2 separate regions of the Homo sapiens genome follow, and region 1 is linked to region 2. The links are contacts of gene promoters, found by promoter capture Hi-C in blood cells and fetal thymus (Javierre and others, 2016). All regions are on one chromosome and are shown on one strand. The core of a region is centred on a gene start or on the middle of the fragment in contact, and the rest is flanking DNA. Distances in the headings are between cores, read along the strand shown. Region 1 has its middle 41 kb from the start of PTENP1-AS. Region 2 holds the start of NOL6 (nucleolar protein 6).

Evidence for each region. Contacts are between HindIII fragments. The CHiCAGO score rates a contact against its expected background, and 5 or more counts as called.
Region 1: a contact is called between a fragment that was not itself captured here and the fragment with the promoter of NOL6 in region 2, in 1 of 17 cell types (erythroblasts). The highest score is 5.5, in erythroblasts.

The regions. Positions count from the first base shown.
Region 1 is chr9:33,715,958-33,721,321 of GRCh38, forward strand. No RefSeq gene overlaps it. Among named protein-coding and RNA genes, the nearest start is that of PTENP1-AS, 41 kb to the left of the region's middle. RefSeq lists an enhancer at 4,137-4,226. The HindIII fragment of the contact is 1,106 bases long and covers 2,579-3,684 here.
Region 2 is chr9:33,470,780-33,475,741 of GRCh38, forward strand. It overlaps NOL6 (nucleolar protein 6), which reads right to left and starts at 3,145. Exons shown (of 26, transcript NM_022917.5): 1 at 3,010-3,145; 2 at 1,427-1,633; 3 at 1,225-1,341. The coding sequence starts at 3,063. LOC107987061 (a long non-coding RNA gene) reads left to right here and starts at 3,361. Exons shown (of 3, transcript XR_001746648.3): 1 at 3,361-3,418. RefSeq lists an enhancer at 2,757-3,096. The HindIII fragment of the contact is 3,045 bases long and covers 1,722-4,766 here.

The sequences.
Region 1 (5,364 bases), core at 1,882-4,381, 250 kb after region 2:
CAGAAAACCACCAAGAAAAATATTCATAATCCTACCATTCAGAAGTAACCACAAACATTTTGGTATATGTACCATTTTGTTTGCATCTTTTACATATATCAAAGACCTTTTATATATTTATATATGTAAAATATGCAAACACATATTTTTTTTTGCTTATTCCCCCTCCAGAGAAACAGGATTAAATTCACATTTTCTCTTAAATATATAAAATGAACATTTATCTATGTCAGTAAATATTCTACTATAGCCTAATGTCTGTTTTGAGTTTTATTGTATTGCTATTCCTTAATTTATCAAACATTTAGGTTGATTACAATTTTTCATGTTATAAATAACAATGTAATGAGCATAGTTATCCATACAACTTTTGGTGTGTCCTGATTTTTTCCTAGGATAAATTACTAGATGTAGAATTACTGGGTCGAAGGGTTTTCTTTTATCAAAAAGTTTACAAAAGAAACTTTAAAAATATGTTTTCATCAAAAAGTTTACAAAAAAATTGGTAAGTGATTTTCATGCATGAAAATGAGTGCTTATTATTGATTTCACTCATTGTCATTGTTTTAGAGAATTGCCTTATATTTAGAATAAACATCTGTATTCAGAACACGGTCGCATCTTTTTTTTTTTTTTTTTTTTTGAGACAGAGTCTCACTCTGTCGCCCAGGCTAGAGTGCAGTGGTGCGATCTCAGTTCACTGCAACCTGTGCCTCCTGGGTTCAAGTGATTCTTCTGCCTCAGCCTCCCAAGTAGCTGGGACTACAGGTGCATGCCACCATGGCAGGCTAATTTTTGTATTTTTAGTGAGGGTGGAGATTGGGAGGAGGGTGAGAATTGAAAAGCTAACTGTCGGGTACTATGTTTATTACATGGGCAATGAAATAATCCATACACCAAACCCCCATGACAAATAATTTACTCATATAATAAACCTGAACAGGTACCCCCCTGAACCTAAAATAAAAGTTGGGGGTAAAAAGAAGCTGGAGAGAAGAGAGCCTCCCTTCCTGAGGATAATAGCCTTCGTGTATGCCAGACACTGTTATAAGCATTTTACACATTATGGCTCATTTAGTGCTGAACCTGTATATAGGATGTAGGTTGACAAAACTGAGGCACGGAAAGCATAAGTAACTTGCTAAGGGTAAGAAAGATTGTAAGAATAGAAGCAAACACTACTGAAGGGAAGACAACAGCACTCAGACACATTGAGATGAGAACCAAGTAACATTGATTTACAGAATATACAGGCAAATGGGATGCGCTGATAGAGCTCCTTTTATTAAAAATTCTGCAGGAATAAAAGAAAATTCATGGCAACTATGCAGAGAGCTTAACACAAAAAAGAAGAGGAAATATAGTATAAATGGGAAAGTGAAAAATCCATCCTGAAATCTAATATAAGCCTAAGAAACAGAGAAAAAAATCTAAGACAAGTATTTTGTATCTAGAAAAAAACAAAGAAAACATATTCATTGAAACAAAAATAAATAAATACTTAGATGAGACAATAAAATAAGATGGAAAAATGGTAGTTACAAAGCTAAGGAAAAATTGCAGATCAAAACAGCAATTACAGAGTTAAGTAAATTTGAAAGAGCAAGAAACAAAATTAACATAGTCAAATATTAAATTCATCACTTTCAAAAAAGCTTGAGATAATCATAGAAGGTGTGTAGGGAAAAGACAATAAAGTCGAAATGGTTAGGATGAAGATTAAGCTATGAGGGATAGATAATGATCTACCCATGGGTCCTTGTTTCCCCAAAAGAAAGACTACAGTGCATGAAATACAAAAAATATCTACCAATATAAAAGAAAAGAAAGAGCTGGCTAGGAAATTGAAAGGGCTCCCTGGATTCTGGAAAGAAGTGACAGTGCTGGCTCAACTCTGAGACATACTTGATGAATTTACTACACTTCAAAGTAAAAGAAAATAGTCTCATGTATTCAAGAACAAAAAGCAATCCACTTACAATGGTGGGGTAGGGCTGGGAGAGGACCCTGAGAATCAGGCAGCATTTGATGCAAGAAAATAGTAAAACAGTGTCCACAAAGTTCGGAGGAAAAGAAAGTGGAACACAACAATTTCCTACCATACAAGTTCTTGTTAAATCAGATGCAGTAGTCAAACATATAAACACTAGAGAACATAAAACCCGTGAGCCCTTCTTGTAAACGAAAATAAAACAAACTGACCCAAGAGATGAATCGAAGTAGATTTCAGAAATTGATTGGTGTTGGCATCAGAATTCTTCTCATAGAGGGAATTTTCCTTAGAAAAAAGAAGCTTTCATAAGCTTCTGGGGGTAGTACAGAATTCCATACCTTCAGACTTTTCCATATCTGTATATTATTCCTTCTGTTATTTAGTTAATACGTTTCTTTAAACTCACTTTTTAATTTAGATTCATATGTTTATGAAGGAATCTTGCAATCATAAGCCGAAAAGAAAAATTGGCATCACTTACGGTAAATAGAAGGTAGCCAAGCATAAAAATAAATTCGATGAAACAAAAACAACGTTATTAATATAACCAGATATCATTGCCAGCTTTAAGAGGGCCAAAGCTGAAGCTTGCTTTCTCTTTCATAAAAAGAGAGTTTGGTAGGTGTTAGATGTTATGTGCTTATTCTCACCAAACAGACTGTCTTTGACTAATTCATCTTACTACTAAATAGAGTGTATTAGTGCGATTCAATGAAATTTAATGCTGTGTTCTTGCATCACCTTAAATCTCACTTTGGGTGCTATGAGTGGAATTTTTGTGTGTCTTTTCCCTCCTGCAAATTCATCTGTTAAAACCATAACTGCTAATGTGATGGTGTTAGGATGTAGGATGTTTGGGAGGTGATTAGGGAGCAAGAGCGGAGCCCTCACGAGTGGGAGTCATGCCCTCATGAAGAGATTTTGGAGGCTAGCTGAGAGAGACAGAGCTGGACATACTGGCTCGATGGAGCTCTGGGTGTTGCTCCCACAACAGCAACAGCACAGAGCGCTGAACACACACCCCACAGTTCACCATCCATGGCCAGGAGACCATTCAAAACGTGATTGCTGGTTGTCAACTCCAAGAACTAACAGGAGTGAAAACTCACACACACACCCAAGAATGCAGACTCTGCCTGGCACACAGGGAAGTCTGCCCTCGTGCCTGGGGTTCCTTCCTCTGTGGGCTTCCTATCTTCAGAGCCTTGGCTCTCCCTTCCCCTGAGGGATTACTCACCACTTCCCTAACACTGCTGGGCTGCCCTGCTTTGCTGCCATGGAGTCCAGTCATCAGGCAGATTCATTCACATCTAGGCGCCTGAGTGGTACTGGCCACCACGTAATGGAGTGGACATCAAACCGAGAAGTGGGCAACCTGGAATTGGGTGCCAGTCCTAGAGTCCCTCATCAGCCAAAAGAAAATTATCTCGCGAGTGCCTACCTTCCAGAAGTGTCACGGGGAGACCATCAGGTGTGTACCAGAAGCACTTCCTACATTGCAAAGCAGCAAAGAAAGGCAGCCTCTATAGTGGTCTGTAAAGAGTGCCTTGCAGAGAGGACACAGCCTGGCTGATGAGTTTCCAGCAGTAGAGCGTTAGGTGTGATTGAATCTTGGAGAGGAAGAGACTTGGTTCTGTTGAACCTGCTCCATGTTACTCAAAGCACACACCACACACTCTGCCAACAGGTAAAGCTTCGGATGCTACCTGCTGTGTTCTGTCCTCTCCCAGCTGAGCCAGGCCCTGGGAGCCCCCTCCAGGAGCTCCGGGCAAGCAGCCCCTCATGGTCCATGGTGGAACTGCACCCTCAGCACTGGTGAGGGTGTCGCAGGAGCCTGCGAGGAAGGTGGGGTCTCAGTGCTTTTGCACAGGGCGAGTGGAGCTGGAAATGCAGCCCCCAGTGGTTTCAGTTATTCCAGGTATGACTTTTCTCTCTCATCTTGCACCTTCGGACTCTAATTTCCTGTGAGCAATGTGCTGGGAAAACTGGCAGCGGCTCTCTGGCAACCGTGGGGGAAAGAAGCAAAGTGGGGCAGAAGCGGAAGCCAGGGGCAGGGGCTGGGTCGGTCCAGCCAGCCCGCTAGGGCTCCCATGTAGCAGAGATTCCACTGAGAGGAAGCCGGGGCTGGCCCGGCCGGGAGACTCCCTCCATGCCCCGTGTGTGGAGTGTCGGGGCACCCTATATCCTCAAGGTGGCCTTGACCTCTGGAGACAGGTGTTGGCTCCTTGAGTCACCAACAGCAGGGACCAGACTGGGAGGTGTTTTTGGGCGGGAAGGGCTGGGCCAGGCCAGGCTCCAGCAGGCCCCCTTGTGGTCAGAGGGACTGCCTGCAGGATGATGGGCTTGGGGACCAAGGCAGCCACTCCCCACATGGGAGTTGGACCCAGGCTTGAAGGACACACCGTCACATCGATGTCACTCTCTTGGGAGGCCTCCTTGTGACACAAGATGTCCTGGCCCCGGTGTTTTTCTTCACCATATTCCTCCCAACTGTAATTGTGTAGTTCCTGGGGTGCTTATCTCTCAATGTCCATCTCTGTGAAAAAAGCCGTGACCCTCCGGGATAAGGTCTGTTCGTGAGACTCACTTTGTGGAAAGGACATATGAAAGTCTCAGGACTCTACCTAAGAGCTAGGATCCAGCTCAGGTCCCAGCTCCACTGCACCAATGCCCCTCGGTCCGAGGAGAGACTGAGATCTCTGTAAACAGCAGAGATCAGTAATACAGGCTTTGCCCTGCTGAAACTTCCCTCTGAAAGGAAGCATAATGCTTTCAGCCAAGTGCCTGCCCAGAGCTCTAAATAGATAACAGTTTAGAAGGGGGGTGTGATCACCAAGGGTACAGATGGGCTTCACAGAGCCCATAACCCCCACCAAAATTGAATGCCAATGTGTATAGGTGTGTGCCTAGGTGCATTTTCCTCAGGAAAGGTCCAAAGCTTTCATAGGATTCTCAAATGGATCTAGATCACATAGAGAGAGGAGAGGGGGTTGTCAGCAGGAGCAGCCCAGGAGACACTCAGTGAGAATACGCAAGGGTCTGCACCTGTCAGACTTTGGTCTGCATAATTATATGCATAATTTGCATATAATTTGGTATGCAAGATTGCAATGCGATTAAGCTATCTTGCAGTATCTTAAAGAAACTCTGGTAAAGGGTACCCTAGATACTAGTAAAATGAATTAGCTGTGCACATATGTGGAGGAGATTGTAACTGGGGTGGAAGTAAGACTTCACTGTATACCTTTCTGTGTGAATTGATTTTTGAGCCAATGTAATGCCTATTCTAAAACAAAATATAGCACTTCATATAAAGGGCAAAATTAAAACATAATGGAAAAACTACCAAAACCCAATGAGGAAGTCATTGT
Region 2 (4,962 bases), core at 1,895-4,394:
GATTTAAAAAAAAAAAAAAAAAAGAAAGAAATGGATCACTTCACTACTTTCCTCCCTAGTTTGAGGAGCCACCATTTCTCAGTGCCTAGACTAGTTCCTAACTGGTCTCTCTAATCTCATCATTGTCCCTCTCGATTCTACTTTTGACACAACAGCCGGAGTAAATTTTTCTAAAACTAAACTTTTTAAGGCTGGAAAAGTGAACGTTTTAGGCTGGGCACGGTGGCTCACACCTGTAATCCCAGCACTTTGGAAGGCCAAGGAGAGCAAATTACCTGAGGTCAGGAGTTCAAAACTAACCTGGCCAACATGGTGAAACCCCCTCTCTACTAAAAATACCAAAAAAATTAGCCGGGTGTGATAATCCCAGCTACTCGGGAGGCTGAGGCAGGAGAATAGCTTGAACCCGAGAGGTGGAGGCTGCAGTGAACTGAGATCGCGCCATTGCACTCCAGTGTGGAGGACAAGAGCGAGACTTCGTCTCAAAAACAAAAACAAAAACGTGAACTTTTAAAAGTTAGAGGGCATCACTGTTCTGCAAAATAAAATCCAGCAGTGGCTCCCCATCTCACCCAGAGCAACAGCCAAAGTCCCTACTTCGGGACACAATGCCCTGCATGATATGCTACTTTTCCCCATCACCTTTCTGAACTCATCTCCTTCTGTATTCCTCATTCATTCCAAGGAATGTAACTGGAACATTCCTGCCTTTGTGCCTTTGTACTGGCTGTTCCCCCTTCCTGGAATGCTTTTATTCCCTTAGATATCTATATAGCTGACTCACCTACTTCAAGTCTTTACACAAATGTCACTTCAATAAGGCCTACTTTGTGAACACCCCCTTTAAACTTGTAAACCACTCCCATCCTCTAATACTCCCAATCCCCTTACATTGCTCGTCCTACTTTTTCCTTTTTCCAGTGTTTACCACATTCTAACATTGCCATAGAGTTTACCTGTTATGCTTATCTATTAACTATAACCTCAGCATTACAGCATAGGCTATTATTTACTGATATATCCTAAGAACACAAATACTGCAAGGCATGGAAGTACTTGCTGAATGAATACACAAATGACCACGCTCCCAGCTAAGCTTCCTTGCTGTGAGAATGAGCTCCCTGCACCCCAACCCTTAAACAGAGTAACAGCAAGGCCCCTGTTTGATATACCCCCACTGGAGGTCTCTCTTGGGCTTCCCAGTTCCCCAGGCCACTTGCTTACCTCTGTCTCAGGGACTGAGGGCACCCTCACAACCCGCTGGTTGACCTCCCGTAGGAAGGCATCAATCCGATCCTTCTTCTTCTCTGACAGCCTTACTTCCTTTAGTAGCTCCTCTACCTGTAAGAGAGGGTAGAAGACAGTCCATCAGCCTCAGGGTCCCAGGTACACACCTCGAACAAAAGCTGCAGACACTCAACAGTACCTGTAAACGAAGCAAGCTGGAGTGGAACAAGATCTCAGTCTCCCGAAGGCGATTAAGCTCCTCATTGGTAGGCTCCTTGTACAGTTCTGCCCTGCTGAGCTTCACTGGCTGCAGGAGGCCCTTCGCTGGAGGTTCAGCCAATGTACGCTTCCTGGAGGATGCTTTCTTCCCCTCTTTGCCTGTGCCTTCCAGGGCTGGTTCCATCACCTGTGGCCAGTGAGGGAGAAGCCATTTTGAGGTAATAGGTATCTAGCATCTGCTGCCTAAAGTGCCACCATGATAGGTTGTGGGTAAAAGCTTCACCTGCTCTGTCCCTCTTTTGAGTAGGAGTCAGATTTTGTAAAACTCAGGAGAATCGTTACTTGGATGAACATCACTGAGCGCTGAGCCGAAAATTCCTTGAGTTAAGAGCTCTCCTGTCTACCTGACACCACAAGCATGGAGCTCTGTTTGGAATTGGTAGTGATAGAAGCTGACTGGGCCCAGGCTGGACACGGTGGCTGACGCCTGTAATCCCAGCAGTTTGGGAGGTGGAGCTGGGCGGATCAGCTGAAGTCAGGAGTTCGAAATCAGCCTGGCCAACATGGGGAAACTCCGTCTCTATTAAAAATACAAAAATTAGCCAGGTGTGGTGGCACATGCCTGTAATCTCAGCTACGCGGGAGACTGAGGCAGGAAAATCACTTGAACCCAGGAGGCAGAGGCTGAAGTGAGCCGAGATCGTGCCATTGCATTCTAGCCTGGGCAACAGAGCAAGACTGTCAAAAAAAAAAAAAAAAAAAAGAAGCTGACTGAGCCCTGCCCTAAGTAATGCCCAGGCCCCTTGTATTTTCAGGAAGTTTCCTCTTCTGCTGATATAGGCCTGGGACTTCTCAAATGTCTTTCCCATTCTCGCTCCAACCAAATCCTGCCAGGTTCCACCTCCTCTAGGAAGACCTGACTGCCTCAGTTTACACTAAATACTCACTGATGGAAGGAGCTAGAACCGACTGGACCCCAGAGGACACATTTAGCAAGTCATTAAATCCTCAAAATAATTCTTGAAGACACTTGAAGTCCCACTATTCACTCGAGGTTCCACAACTGGTACACCCGTACTATGAGCAGGCTTCAAAGGCAAGCGTGCAGGATCCCAAACCTTTTCCCCTACAGCCGTGGGCCCATCCGCTCCACGATGCCTCTCATCCCAGAGAGCCTTACTGGAGCGCTCCAGGAGAGGCACCGTATGCCCTCCGCTACAGCGGGGAGCACAGAACTGGACACAAATTCTGTGGAGGAAGATCCCGCTTATCGTCAAGGACCACCAAATAAAAGAAACGACCCAAGTGTGGGTCTCTTCAACTTTGAGGTGCAGAGCTCCAGAAGAGAGCAGAGGCTCTACCGGCTTCACTGCTTCTAACCAAATACTGCCAGGTTCCATCACCCCTAGCAAGCCCTGTCTCAGTGCCACTGGCTGGAAACATCCTCCAGAATGGGCCGCCGGCATGGCTTTCACCCGCAAGCTGTCAGATCACGCCATCTCGGGCCCTGCAGCCAAGGGAGCGCACATTGAGCCTCTGTTCCTCCCCGATGGCTCAACCCACCTCTGGCTCTCCAGTCGCTCCGCGAAGCTGCTCTCCAGCTGGCGCCGGCCCCATCACTCAGGGTCCAGCACTCTCCCGCACTTCAGATTCTAGCCGGGTCTATACCTCATAGCTTCCCACGTGGGCGGAAATGCCTAACTCCAGGCCCAAGTCCAGCCCACCCCAATTCCTCAGGACTCCACCCACTCCAGAGCTATTGGATTATCAGTCGATTACTCGCTTGCCATTGGCCGGGCAGTCTCAAGGCCCGCCCATTAGGGGAGGGGACAAACGGGTTTCTGTGCTTTACGGCCTCTTCGCGACGCTAGAACGGAAGCCTGCCCGTAGCTAGGCCTTTGCTTTCTTTTCCTCACTTCCTTCGCGTGGCTGCAATCGGGAAGGGCGGAGCTAGTTTGTTCCTTTTGGTCAGGTTTGTTTACAGCAGTTATTCCTCCCTTTTTCTTTATTTGCTACACCTTATCAGTTAACAAATCTTGTCAGTTCTACCTCCAAAACATACCTTGAATTTATTCATTTTTCTGTGTCTTCACTGCCAGGTTTAGCCCGTCACATCATCTTGTTCCCGAATTATTGTTATGACTTTTCTCCAGTTTTTACTTATTACTTAGCTTATTACAATTTCAAGTAATTTAGTTATTTTTATTTATTTATTTATTTATTTATTTATTTATTTATTTATTTATTTTTGGAGTAGTCTTGCTCTGTCGCCCAGGCTGGAGTGCAGTGGCACGATCTCAGCTCCCTGCATCCTCCCTCTCCCAGGCTCAAGCGATTCTCGTGCCTCAGCCTCCTGAGGAGCTGGGATTACAGGCAGGTACCATCACACCCGTCTAATTTTTGTATTTTCACTAGAGATGGGGTTTCCTCATGTTGCCTAGGCTGGTCTCAAACTCCTGACTGCCAGTGACCCGCCCACCTTGGCCTCCCGAAATGCTGGGATTACAGGCCTGAGCCACTGCTCCCGGCCTATTTTTAAACTATTAAAAATTTAAAACAAATGTTGCAAGAATAATATAATGAATGCGCATATACTCTTCACCTAGATTCACTTAGTGTTACTATTTTGCCAAGTTTATCTTTACCTATGTATTTACATATTATTTTGCAAAACCATTTGAAAACCAATCACACATCTCCCTAAATACTTAGGTATGTATCTACTAAGATCAAGGACTACCTCTTATGTAAGCACAGCCCGATTATGAAATTAAGGAAATTTAATCGTGATTCAATACTAGTATACAAATTCCATCTTTAAATTTTGTCAGTTATTCCAGTAATAACCGTTATATGTTTCATTTTATTTCCTAATGCAGGATCATCTAAATTCAACTATTACCATATAATATATATATATATATATATATATATATATATATATATATTTTTTTTTTTTTTTTTTTTTTTTTTTTTTGAGAGAGAGTGAGTGTCCCTCTGTTGCCCAGGCTAGAGTGCAGTGGGTCGATCTCAGCTTACTGCAACATCCACCTCCTGGTTCAATTGATTATTGTGGCTCAGCTTCCCAAGTAGCTGGGATTACAGGCATGCGCCAACACACCAGGCCAATTTTTGTATTTTTAGTAGAGACAGAGTTTCACCATGATGGCCAGCCTGATCTCAAACTCTGGCCTCAAGTGATCTGCCCTCCTCAGTCTCCCAAAATGCTGGGATTACAGGGGTGAGCCACCGTGCCCAGTCTAAAAATTTGTATTGAAGTACAATATACATAAGGAAAAATGTACATATCCCAAGTGTAAAGCTTGAATACTAACAAACCAAACATACTCATATAGTCAGCTCCCAGAAAATAAGCAGAACATTTCCTGCACCTTCAGAATCTCCCCTCATGCTGCCCTCTAGTAACTCTGCCCCCAACAATCACTATTCTGACTTCAAACAGTGCAGGTCAGTTTATACAATAGCTTTTTTATTATTTATTATTTATTTATTTAT